2 separate regions of the Homo sapiens genome follow, and region 1 is linked to region 2. The links are contacts of gene promoters, found by promoter capture Hi-C in human tissues and cell types (Jung and others, 2019). All regions are on one chromosome and are shown on one strand. Each heading gives the region's core, a stretch centred on a gene start or on the middle of the fragment in contact. The rest is flanking DNA. Distances are from core to core; before and after follow the strand shown. Region 1 overlaps STAT5B (signal transducer and activator of transcription 5B). Region 2 holds the start of STAT3 (signal transducer and activator of transcription 3).

Region 1 (6,160 bases), core at 3,661-6,160, 180 kb before region 2:
AAATTCAAGCTTGCCATTATAATGGCTCCAATAGAAATCTCCATTTAAAAATAACCATGGGTTATAGATGAAATACTTTTATTTATTTACTTACTTACTTACTTATTTTGAGACGGAGTCTCACTCTGTTACCAGGTTGGAGTGCAGTGGTGCGATCTTGGCTCACTGCAACCTCCAACTCCCTGGTTCAAGCGATTCTCCTGCCTCAGCCTCCCAAGTAGCTGGGATTACAGGCACGCGCCACCACACCTGGCTAATTTTGTATTTTTAGTAGAGATGGAGTTTCCCTATGTCAGCCAGGATGGTCTTGATCTCCTGACCTCATGATCCACCCACCTCAGCCTCCCAAAGTGCTGGGATTACAGGCGTGAGCCACCGTGCCCGGCCTGAAATAGTTTTAAAAGCCATGGGTAGGGGCCAGGCATGTTGGCTCATGCCTGTAATCCCACACTTTTGGAGGCCTAGGCAGGTGGATCACCTGAGGTCAGGAGTTCAAGACCAGCCTGGCTAACATGATGAACCCTGTCTCTACTAAAAATACAAAAATCAGCCAAGTGTGGTGGCACTCATCCGTAGTCCCAGGTACTATGCTGAGGTAGGAGAATGGCTTGAAGCTGGGAGGTGGAGGTTGCAGTGAGCTGAGATCATGACACTGCACTCCAGCCTGGGTGACAGAGACCCCATCTCAAAAATAAATAAATAAATAAATAAATAAAAATAAAAGCCATGGGTAGATAAGCAGGTAATACAAAAATCACTTCCCAAGAGATCCAATGATCTCAGACGTTTCAAGTTCAAACAGTATTCTAGCCCTCAGTAGAAGAAACAGTTTTTACTGGCCCCCAATCCCTGATTTCCCATACAAAGATATATAAAAGCTAGGAAGCATGCCCACAACCAGAGAAAGCATAAGAGCTATTAAAAGTGATGAATTTTTTTTTTTTCGAGATGGAGTCTTGCTCTGTTGCCCAGGCTGGAGTGCAGTGGCGCGATCTCGGCTCACTGCAAGCTCCGCCTCCCGGGTTCACGCCATTCTCCTGCCTCAGCCTCCCAAGTAGCTGGGACTACAGGTGCCCACAACTACACCCGGCTAATTTTTTTGTGTTTTTAGTAGAGACGGGGGTTTCACTGTGATGGCCAGGATGGTCTCGATCTCCTGACCTCATGATCCGCCTGCCTTGGCCTCCCAAAGTGCTGGGATTACAGGCGTGAGCCACCGCACCCAGCCTTTTTTTTTTTTTCTTTTAAGAGACAGGGTCTTACTCTGTTGCCCAGGCTGGAGTACAGTGATGTGATCATGACTCACTGTAACCTTGAACTCCCAGGGTCAAGTGATCATCCCACCTCACCCTCCAGAGTAGCTGGGACTACAGGCGCACACCATGAGCACCACCATGCCCACCTAATTAACTTATTTATTTATTTATTTACTTAGAGACAGGGTCTTACTATGTTGCCCAAGCTGGGCTTGAACTCCTGGCCTCAAGAGATCCTCCTGCCTGAGGCTCCCAAAGTGCTGGGATTACAGGCATGAGCCACCGCACCCAGCCAAAAGTTATTAAAAACTTTAATTCACAGAAAATGAACCAGCAAGCTACCCTTATTGTGAGGGTCAGAGGAGAGAACTAACTTTCCTGATGCCCTGGTGCAGTGGCTCAAGCCCGTAATCCCAATACTTTGGGAAGCCAAAGTGGGGGATTGTTTGAGCCCAGGAGTTCGAGACCAGCCTGGGCAACATACAAAAAATTTAAAAATTAGATGGGTGTGGTGGTGCACGTCTGTGGTCCCAGCTAATCGGGAGGCTAAGGGAGGAGGACTGCTTGAGGCCAGGAGGTCAAGGCTGCAGTGAGCCATGTTTGTGCCGCTGCACTCCAGCCCGGGCAAAAGAGTGAGACCCTGTTTCAAAAAAAGAAAAGAACTAACATCTTGGGTAGAAATGGTTGATGGCAATATCCATATGTTAATTAGGATAAAGGAATATTTTTACTACTGTAAGAACTCCAAATCATCAAATTCTTCACTGAAATAAGCTTTATGCAGAGTAGTACAATAAGGCAAACATTTTAAGAGGGAAGCAACTGAGATTCTGCACGGACTCTTGTATCATAGGTAGCCATGTCATGGTTAAATGTTCATGTGTAACCATGCTGCCATATACTTTCATGTATAACCAAATTAGCAATTGTGTTTCCCATAATAGTATTTTTCATAGGCTGCCTTATTATGAGTATGTCATGGCTATACATTTATGTTTCCCATAATTAGTACTGACCTCAACAAATAGTAAGTACCCACTAAATTATTTGTTAAAATAATTTTGTAACGAAAGCAGCTAACTTTGGACATAAGAAGGGAGGGGCACTCACGAGAATCAAACTTCCAAGCAATGGTGATGCCGCCAATTTCTGAGTCACTGAATCTCAGGAGGAAGGTCCCATCTGGCTTGTTAATGAGTAGGTCATGGGCCTGTTGCTTGTTTACAAACCCCAAAATGGCCCTGGATCACCAAGGACAAAGGACAGAAGCAGAGTGTGACTTACGATGCCAGAGAGAAGACCTTCAGACTCTGTCGGCGCCTTAAGAAATAATGATTCTCACCCATCATTCCAATGAGGCTTGAGATGTTTTTTTAACACTTCCATCACACCGTCAAACCATTGCCAGAAAGTGTAATTCCGTCCTGGTAAATTCTCCTGGTTGGAGATACAACAGTGAACATAAGAACACCAGAGTAACACTTGGAATATTATACACATATTTAATTGGAAAAATTAAATGGGAAACAAACATCTACCCTTGTCAGAGGCATACAAATATCCCCGCCTACCTGAGTTTTACCTAATGGCCCCATGGAGAGGAAAAGAGGGAAGAAGGGGAAAATACCAAACTGCAGTTACCAGCACCCAGTGGGCTCCTGCTACAGACACTTTCACCTGGGACTGGGCTGACCCGTCCCTTGCTAGTTTCGATGTGTGGTCTGTGACCAGAAGCATCAGTGTCACCTGGGAGCTTCTGAGAAATGCACGTTGTTAGGCTCCAAATTAAACATTTAAAACACCTTGGGGGTGGGGGGTGTAGGAAAAGAAACAAAAATTAAATTCAAATCAAGGTGATAGCCGGGCATGGTGGCTCACGTCTGTAATCCCAGCACTTTGGGAGGCTGAGGTAGGCAGATCACTTGAGGTCAGGAGTTTGAGACCATCCTGGCCAACATGGTGAAACCCCGTCTCTACTAAAAATACAAAAATTGGCTGGACATGGTGGCGGGTGCCTGTAATCCCGGCTACTCAGGAGGCTGAGACAGGAGAATCACTTGAATCTGGGAGACGGAGGTTGCAGTGAGCCCAGAATGTACCACTGCACTCCTTGTGACAGAGCGAGACACCATCTCAAAAATAAATAAATAAACAAAAATAAATAGGGTGGGCACAGTGGACTCACGCCTGTAATCCCAGCACTTTGGGAGGCCGAGGCGGGCAGATCACCTGAGGTCGGGAGTTCGAGACCAGCCTGACCAACATGGAGAAACCCCGTCTCCACTAAAAATACAAAATTGCGGGGCGTGGTGCCGCATGCCTGTAATCCCAGCTACTCGGGAGGCTGAGGCAGGAGAATCGCTTGAAACCAGGAGGCGGCGGTTGCGGTGAGCCAAGATCGTGCCATTGCAGTCCAGCCTGGGCAACAAGAGCGAAACTCTGTCTCAAAAAAAAAAAATGAATAAAAATAAAATCAAAGTGACGTCTGAATTAGCAGATGCTAGAGGAGGAGTTTCTTTCATCAGCATCCCTCTTTGTGGGTTGAGGGTCCCATAGGAGCCTGATCTGGCATTACACATGGGGAACATAAGAGAGTAAAGGGGAGAGAGGCCCAGAGTTCGCATCCCCTCAAAAGCTTTGCTTCTCATGAGCTATGTTAACATCTGCTTTGCTCTATTTCCTTTACAAAGGAAGAAAATGCATTAACTGTAGACAAAGGTCAACTTATTTAAAATATGCAAAGATGTAATTTTCTACACGTGACCTGGGTAACTCTCAAGTTGTCCATCTAGTCAGAAGCTTCTATTACTTTCGGTACATTTTATTAGAGACATGAAGAATAAGGGCCCAGGGCAGGGAGACTCCTGAGAGCATCTGGTTGGGAAGGACTGATCTAACAGCGGCTGGCAGCTGGGCTCCTCACCCTGTTGAACTGGGACCAGGACACAGACAGGCCACTGTAGTCCTCCAGGTGGCTGCTGCTGTTGTTGAACAGTTTCTGCGCCAGGAACACGAGGTTCTCCTTGGTCAGGCCCCGGTTGCTCTGCACTTCGGCCTTGAATTTCATGTTGAGCGCCTCACACAGCTGTGGCCACAGCACTTTGTCAGGCACGGCAAATGGCACCCTGCCCTGAGAGGGAGAGAGGCCAGAATCTGATGAGAAAACAGTTGCATGATTTATTCCCTCAAGCCACAAAAGAAAAACGCTGATGGCTGGGAGTGGTTACACACATTTGTCTTGCAGGGCCTGAGGATAAATTCAGACTCTGCTGGGGTACACGGTTCTGTGAAATTCAGAAGGTTCCGTTTCACCTTCTTTACACACAACTAGAAGGTAACCCATGCTATCCATGCTGTTTTGTAAATGAGCTGCTGAACTAACAGTCAAATCCTATGTTCTAACGGCCACAAACCAAAACATAACCAAGGTCTGGCTCTTAGATTGTAAACACCTTGGGAATTTAGAAATCTGAAAGACTGGTCCTCTAGGTACAAACAGAGAGAGTGTGCGTATGTGTGCACACGTGTCGGCATGTGTGTACACACGTGGAATCATTGCCCTCGACTCCTTCTGCCAAGAATTCTAGCTCAAAGTAAAACAACTTGGTATGGAAGAGTGGAAATTTTGAGTTGGATGGCTTTATTGAGAAATAGGTTAGAAGATTAACTTTTAATAAACTGCTTTTCAACCCGTTCAGCCATAGTACTCCATTTTATTTTGTTACAAACACTTTTTTCAATAGGTGATTTTCACATGATTTAAAATTCAAAAAGCACAGACGGCTACACAGTGAAGTCACTCCCTATCCCTGTCTCCCAGCAACCCAGTTCTTTTCTTTAAAGGCACCTAACACAGTTTCTTGTGTATCCCACCAAAGATATTCTATGCATGCCAGCAATGACATATACCTTTTCCTTTTCTTCACAAATGACAGCACAAAATCCACATGTTCTGCATCTTCCTCTTTTCACTTAATCCTCTATCTGGGAGACCTCCCATCAGCACATAAAGAAATTTCACCAGACCCCCATAGATGGGCATCAGTGTTACAGCCTCATCTTTAGCTATTACTAACAATGCTGCAATGTTCTTATGTTATTTGACCCACAGGACACATAGGCAAATATATATGGAGAATAAATTTCCACAATTATTTTTTTTTTTAGGTAAGGTCTCGCTCTGTCATCCAGGCTGGAGTACAGTGGCCCAATCTTGGCTCATTGCAACTTCTGCCTCCTTAGCTCAAGTAATTATCCTACCTCAGCCTCCCAAACAGCTGGGACTACAGGCGTGCACCACCATGCCTGGCTAATTTGTGTGTTTTTTGTAGAGACAGGGTTTTGCTATGTTGACAAGGCTGGCCTCAAATTCCTGGGCTCAAGAGATCCGCTTGCCTTGGCCTCCCAAAGTGCTGGGATTGCAGGCATAAACCACTGTGCCTGGCCACAAGTCTTTATTATTTATTTTTTATTTTTTATTTTTTTGAGACAGAGTCTCACTGTGTTGCCCAGGCTGGAGTGCAGTGGCACCATCTCAGGTCACTACAACCTCTGCCTCCCAGGTTCAAGCAATTCTCCTGCCTCAGCCTCCCGAGTAGCTGGGATCATAGGCACGCACCACCACGCCCAGCTAATTTTTGTATTTTTAGTAGAGATGAGAGTCTCACCATGTTGGCCAAGCTGGTCTCGAATTCCTGACCTCAAATGATCCACCCACCTCGGCCTCCCAAAGTGCTGGGATTACAGGTGTGAGCCACCGTGCCCAGCTGAAAGTCTTTTTTTTAACATAGCATAAGGTCGGCTGGGTGCAGTGGCTCATGCCTATAATCCCAGCACTTTGGGAGGCCGAGGTGGGTGGATCACTTGAGGTCAAGAATTCGAGACCAGCCTGGCCAACATGGTGA
Region 2 (5,752 bases), core at 2,675-5,174:
CTCCCCTACTTACCCTCCTAGTCTACCGGGCTACCAGGAATTTTTTTTTTTTTTGGAGACAGGGTCTCACTCTGTCACCCAGGCTGGAGTGCGGTGGCGGGATCACGGCTCACTGCAGCCTTAACCCCCGGGGCTTGGGTGATCCTCCCACCTTAGTCTCACCAGTAGCTGGGACTACAGGTCCACGCCACCAGGCCTGGCTAATTTTTTTTATTTTTAGGGGAGAGGGAGTTTTACCACGTTGCCCAAGCTGGTCTCAAACTCCTGGGCTCAAGCAATCCTCCTGCCTCAGCCTCCCAAAGTGCTGGGATTACAGGCATAAACCACCGCAAATTCTTTACACCTATCAAATTCCACCCATTATTTGGGACCCAGTTGAAATCCCTCTTTGGCAAAAAGACTTTCTAGACAACTCCAGGCCTCATAACCTCTCCTTTCTCTGAAGATCTGTAGCATTCAGCCTAGCACTGTCCAATAGAACGTTCTATGATAACAGAAAAGTTCTACATCTGTACTGTATGTTCTTTTATGTAGAACAGCTACCTTGTTAGCACAAGTGTAAAGTCTCACCATCTCTTTGATGACAACATGTTACATTGGATGGTTAAAACATTTATCAGCTCCCCCAGTAGACTGCAATTTCTGTGAACAAGATACAACTTATTCTTCATAGCAACTCTGACAAAGTTGCAAAAGGTATATATATGTTGGCCAGGCAAGGTGGTTCACGCCTGTAATCCCAGCACTTTGGGAGGCTGAGGTGGGCAGATCTCTTGAGGTCAGGAGTTTGAGACCAGCCTGGTCAATATAGTGAAACCTTATCTCTACTAAAAATACAAAAATTAGCCGGGCGTAGTGGCGGGCACCTGTAATCCCAGCTACTCAGGAGGCTGAGGTGCGAGAATCACTTGAACCCGGGAGGAGGAGGTTGCAGTGAGCCACGATCATGCCACTGCACTCCAGCCTGGGTGATAGAGTGCAACTCCAACTCAAAAAAAAAAAAAAAAAAGTATATATTTGTTGATTTGCACATCACCTAAGAAAACCATAAGCTAAGAAGGTTTGGACTCAGGCGTCTGGAAAGTTGGTCACCACCTCTACCCCACCTCATATCTGAATGTCAAGAGACACGTAGAGGCAGAGAAGTTAAAGCAACTTTCTAGAGACAGAAATGACCACTGATCAAGCCACAATGCACTCTGGTTTAAATGACATTTAGGTCATGACTGTCCTTAATCTAAAACAAACCTAGATTAGTATTTCTTTTCATTAGTAAATAGCTAAATTCTGATGGTAAATTATGCTGACCAAAAACAGTTCCTCACTTCCCAAGTTAGACATAGCAATTAGAAAAATAATCTAAGCAAGCTCCATTTGTATTTCTTTTTTCACCTGTTTATTGAATATTTACCTCCCATGAAGTCTTTCAGCCTATTGGTGGTATTTTACTGTTCAGATATATGTTAGAATTTCACTGATACTTACTGGGCGCGGTGGCTCACACCTGTAATCCCAGCACTTTGGGAGATAGAGGTGGGCAAATCACAAGGTCAGGAGTTCAAGACCAGCCTGGCCAATATGGTAAAACCCCGGTCTCTACTAAAAATACAAAAATTAGCTGGGCGTGGTGGCGCACGCCTGTAGTCCCAGCTACTTGGGAGGCTGAGGCAGGAGAATCGCTTGAACCCAGGAGGCAGAGGTTGCAGTGAGCCAAGATTGCGCCACTGCACTCTAGCCTGGGCAACAGAGCAAGACTCTGACTCAAAAAAAAAAAAAAAAAGAATTTCACTGATACTTTTCACAAAATATACAGAAGGAGGCACAAATTCCACCACTATGGCACTCTGCTGCGTTGGCCAAGTGTCTTGATCCTTTGGCCTCAATTTTCTTATCTACGATATTAGGGTAATTGTTATGTGAACTACCCACCTCACAAGTCCTTTGTGGGTTAATTCATAACTGTGCTGTGGGTATTTCTTTTTCTTTCCTTTCTTCCTCCTTTCCTTTCTTTCTTTCTTAAAGATGGGTTCTCATTATGGTGCTTAGACTAGACTCTAGACCCAATTCCTGGCCTCTCACCATGTTGCCCAGACCAGACTCAACTCCTGGACTCAAGGAATCCTCCCACCTCAGCCTTCAATTAGCTGGGATCAGAGGTGTGCACCACCATGCCTGGCACTGTGGATATTTCTAAGTGATTATTCTTCTCAAATGAACTACATAAAAAACAAAAGATTCATGAATTTACTAATGGTTCTTTGTGATGGATGTGCTAATATAGAGACTAAAATCAAGGCTCCAACCTCTAAAACATTTTTTTTTAAATTCCAGACTTGTTTCCCCATCCCACTGTGCAAACTGAACAAAAACTGGGCTAGCACTCCTGTCTGGAACATGTAATAAGGAAATAAATGTGCTGACTCAGAGAACACAGACATATTTAATATAAAATAAGATAGAAAACTGGCTGAACCAAGTCATAACACAGTCTAAATCCACATATAAAAGATTGAGATGATTTTCTGCTTTGCTTTATTCAAGCCCAATGCTTTATCAGCACAGCCAGCCAAAAATTTACAACCCATACACAGACTATGTAAACCTTTAGTTGCACATACAGTAAGACCAGCAGGTACACACTATACACATTTTTAATTAAAAAAATGACTAACCACTGATTTTGTCACCACACTTAACAACGACCTGATATGGCACAGAGTGATGTGTACCAAACATGGAAATACCAACTTGGGCGACGGTTTGAATCTTGTTAACTTCAGTGCAACCACACCCCCCAAATGCATGTAAAGTTTGCACACATGGTTTTTTCAAGGCCAGCCTGTCTTTGTTTCCCTCTCCTCTGCATTTACCCAAGATCTTGGCTCTGAGACAGAAAACTCCCACTCTCAATTGGTTCATTCCGTCCTATGCAATTAAGCAACACCACAATCCAGTAAATGCAATGGCTCAATTATTTATCTTCTGGCCGACTTTACCAGGTATTTGGAAAAGGACAATGTCAAGAGGTTTATTTCTCTCTCTAGAGCTGGCTTGACGGGTTGATGGGGATTTTATTTTGTCTTTTTTTCTCTTTTTTACAAGGCGGGGACGTGGGGGGAGCATAATTTAACCTAGAAAAAGATGCGAGGGAATTTAGAAAGAGTACCGGTCTGTCAATTTCCCTACAGGAAACTTGATTCTTATGCAATAAAGCCTACCCACGACCAGCCAGCCCGTAAGGCTGCAGGCGACAGACACACCTATTCCTGCCTCCAAAAGGGCACAGCTGTCTCCTGAAGGAGCGGGAACAGGGCAAGCGGAGGAAGTGGCTCAGCGGGAGCCGCCGACCGGGCGGGGAGGAGGCGCTTTCCGACCCCCCACTCGCGCCGGTGATCCCCGTCGGCGTGACAGTCGCTCCGGTGGCCGGAACGTCCCCAGGGCCCCAGGGAGCAGGAAATCGGGGGACTGTCCCTCACTCCTGCCGCCGCAACCGAGTGCGCCCTCGCCCCACGGTGCCCCCTCGAGCGCGTTCTGTTTCTCCGAAGAACGAAACTTCCCTCCAGCGCCCCGAGTCCCTTCCGAGGCCCGCTCCTGTCATCCCGAAGAGTCTTCCCTCAGGGCGACCCTCCGCGTCTCTTCATCTCTCCCGGCCCCACTGCAGCGTCCATCACAACATCCCCAAGGTCCCAGAGGCCCCCTGCCGCTGCGGAGCCCCCGGGTCCCCAGGCCTCCCCAACGGCCCCACCCTGCACCCCCTTCACCTGTTTCTCCGGCAGAGGCCGAGAGGCCGGGGCTGCGCGTGTGCCGGGGACGGGCGGCGAGGCTCCCTCAGGCCGAAGGGCCTCTCCGAGCCGAGGGGGAGAGACAGCGCCAAGCCGGGGTGCCTGTCCAGGATCCGGTTGGGGCTTGTTCCCTCGGCTGCGACGTCGGAACCCCCGGCTCCCCCTCCCAGTCTGCGCCGCCGCAGCTCCGGAAACCGCTGAATTACAGCCCCTTCAGCCAATCCTCGCCCAGCCCCAGCCTGGCCGAGGCACGCCGTCATGCATAATTCATGAAAGGCCAGCTCGTTCGGCCACCCAGAGGTCCCAGTGCGTGTGCGGTACAGCCGAAGCCCCGCCCACTGACCAATGAGGAGAGCAGCTAGGAGAAAGGGCGGAGCCAAGAGGAGACTGATACGCCCCTGTGCTGGCTGTTCCGACAGTTCGGTGCTCCTCCCTCCGCCACAGCGAGGGAAGAGCCGAGGACTTGGGCACAGAAGCCCGGGGGGAGGGAGGGAAGATGACCGGAATGTCCTGCTGAAAACTCAGCTGAGTTCCTGGCAGTGCGTGACGTCAAGGCACTTTAAATGCCCCTGATACAGCTCCCTCCTGCCCGCTCTCCCTTTTCCCGGCCCTTGGCACCACGTGGTGGCGAGGTTGAGAGCCTCTTACCACGCGGGAATCAGCTAGTTAGATAGTCCCCAGGTATCTCCAGATCCTCTGGGGACCCAACTCCTGAATTGGGTTCTGGGGACAACAAAAAGAACATGGGTGACTCCGCCTGCTTTGAACTTCAGTTTCTGCGTGAGCAGGGACACACACACCCGGAAACATGACGTGGAAATAGAGTAATTACTAGAGTGCGTGGGGAGAGGGTAGTGGATTTAACCCCGTACTCCGTTCCATCACTTCAAGCATCAAACGCCGACCAGCTAGCCCATTGGCCCGTACAGGCGAATGCAGAAGACGGTGTATACGAAAGCTGATAACGTGTAGGGCTTGACATTTTTATGCGTCTGAATTGAAATACATGAAATGTTCTGCCTTTTTCTTTTCCACCTTGCCTACTTGGTATGCAAGTTTTACTGAATTGAAGCCAGTGGTTGATAGGAAATGTAGACATTTTGCCTTTCATAATAGAGGATGAACTTTGCATAATGGAGTGATTTCTGTGTATGTGCTGATACTATCAGGGTTTTTAATTTTTATTTTTTTGGGTCTTTAAAAATATGTTATTAATATTTGTGTTTGTTTAATACGAACAGGTATAAAGACAAAAATCTAAAAAGGACCCATTATCTCACTGCTCAGCTAACCCCTGACATATTTTTTTTCAATGAACCTAATACATGTTCCTGTTTAGAAAATGCAGACCGTTCAGAAAGGTCAAAAATATTAAATGAAAATCTTTCCCTACCCCCATCATTCCTTCTCCCCAAGGATAGCTGTTCTTATTAATTTCTAGTGAGAAAAATCAATGACTCTTAACCTTTGAAGGCAGTCACAGATCCTTCTGAGTGTTTGAAGGAGACTAGATTCTAGCCCCAGAAACAATACAAGGTTTTACTCACATGGTTCCCCAGATACCTGAAGCCTGTCTAAGTCTACAGATTCAGACCGCTCGTACCACCTCATATCCAATGAGGGACAGAGGCATCTACAGGGCAATTCATAGGGTCACTGGTGGTGAGAATTGAGAACCTCCTATTGCCCTCTGGTAGACACAGCTCAGTATGGAAATTGCTGTATTTACCTGTAGAGTGTGTGTGTATTGATTAGGCTGTTTATCTACACCACAGGACAGATATCCCCCATCTCCGCCTATAGTCTCTTGTAACTACGCTATCCCGTGCGGCCAACTGCCTCCCTGATAACATAGGGTCTAGGATTTGTTTAGTGATTTACTGCTTACAAAGGACTTACACACCTTATACACTCCCTGCCTGGTTTCTTTCTCACAATCATGAATAGCAGATAGGAGAGGCCATATTATC

What was found. Contacts are between HindIII fragments. The study calls those that stand out against the background at their distance.
Region 1: a fragment that was not itself captured here is called in contact with the fragment with the promoter of STAT3 in region 2 in 1 of the 25 tissues and cell types used here (adrenal gland).

Annotation. Positions count from the first base shown.
Region 1 is chr17:42,207,805-42,213,964 of GRCh38, forward strand. STAT5B (signal transducer and activator of transcription 5B) reads right to left here. Exons shown (of 19, transcript NM_012448.4): 13 at 4,180-4,386; 14 at 2,599-2,693; 15 at 2,367-2,497. Among named protein-coding and RNA genes, the nearest start is that of GHDC, 16 kb to the left of the region's middle. The HindIII fragment of the contact is 7,783 bases long and covers 1,020-6,160 here.
Region 2 is chr17:42,384,518-42,390,269 of GRCh38, forward strand. It overlaps STAT3 (signal transducer and activator of transcription 3), which reads right to left and starts at 3,925. Exons shown (of 24, transcript NM_139276.3): 1 at 3,762-3,925. RefSeq lists silencers at 3,266-3,345, 3,576-3,855 and an enhancer at 4,376-4,645. The HindIII fragment of the contact is 15,490 bases long and covers 1-5,752 here.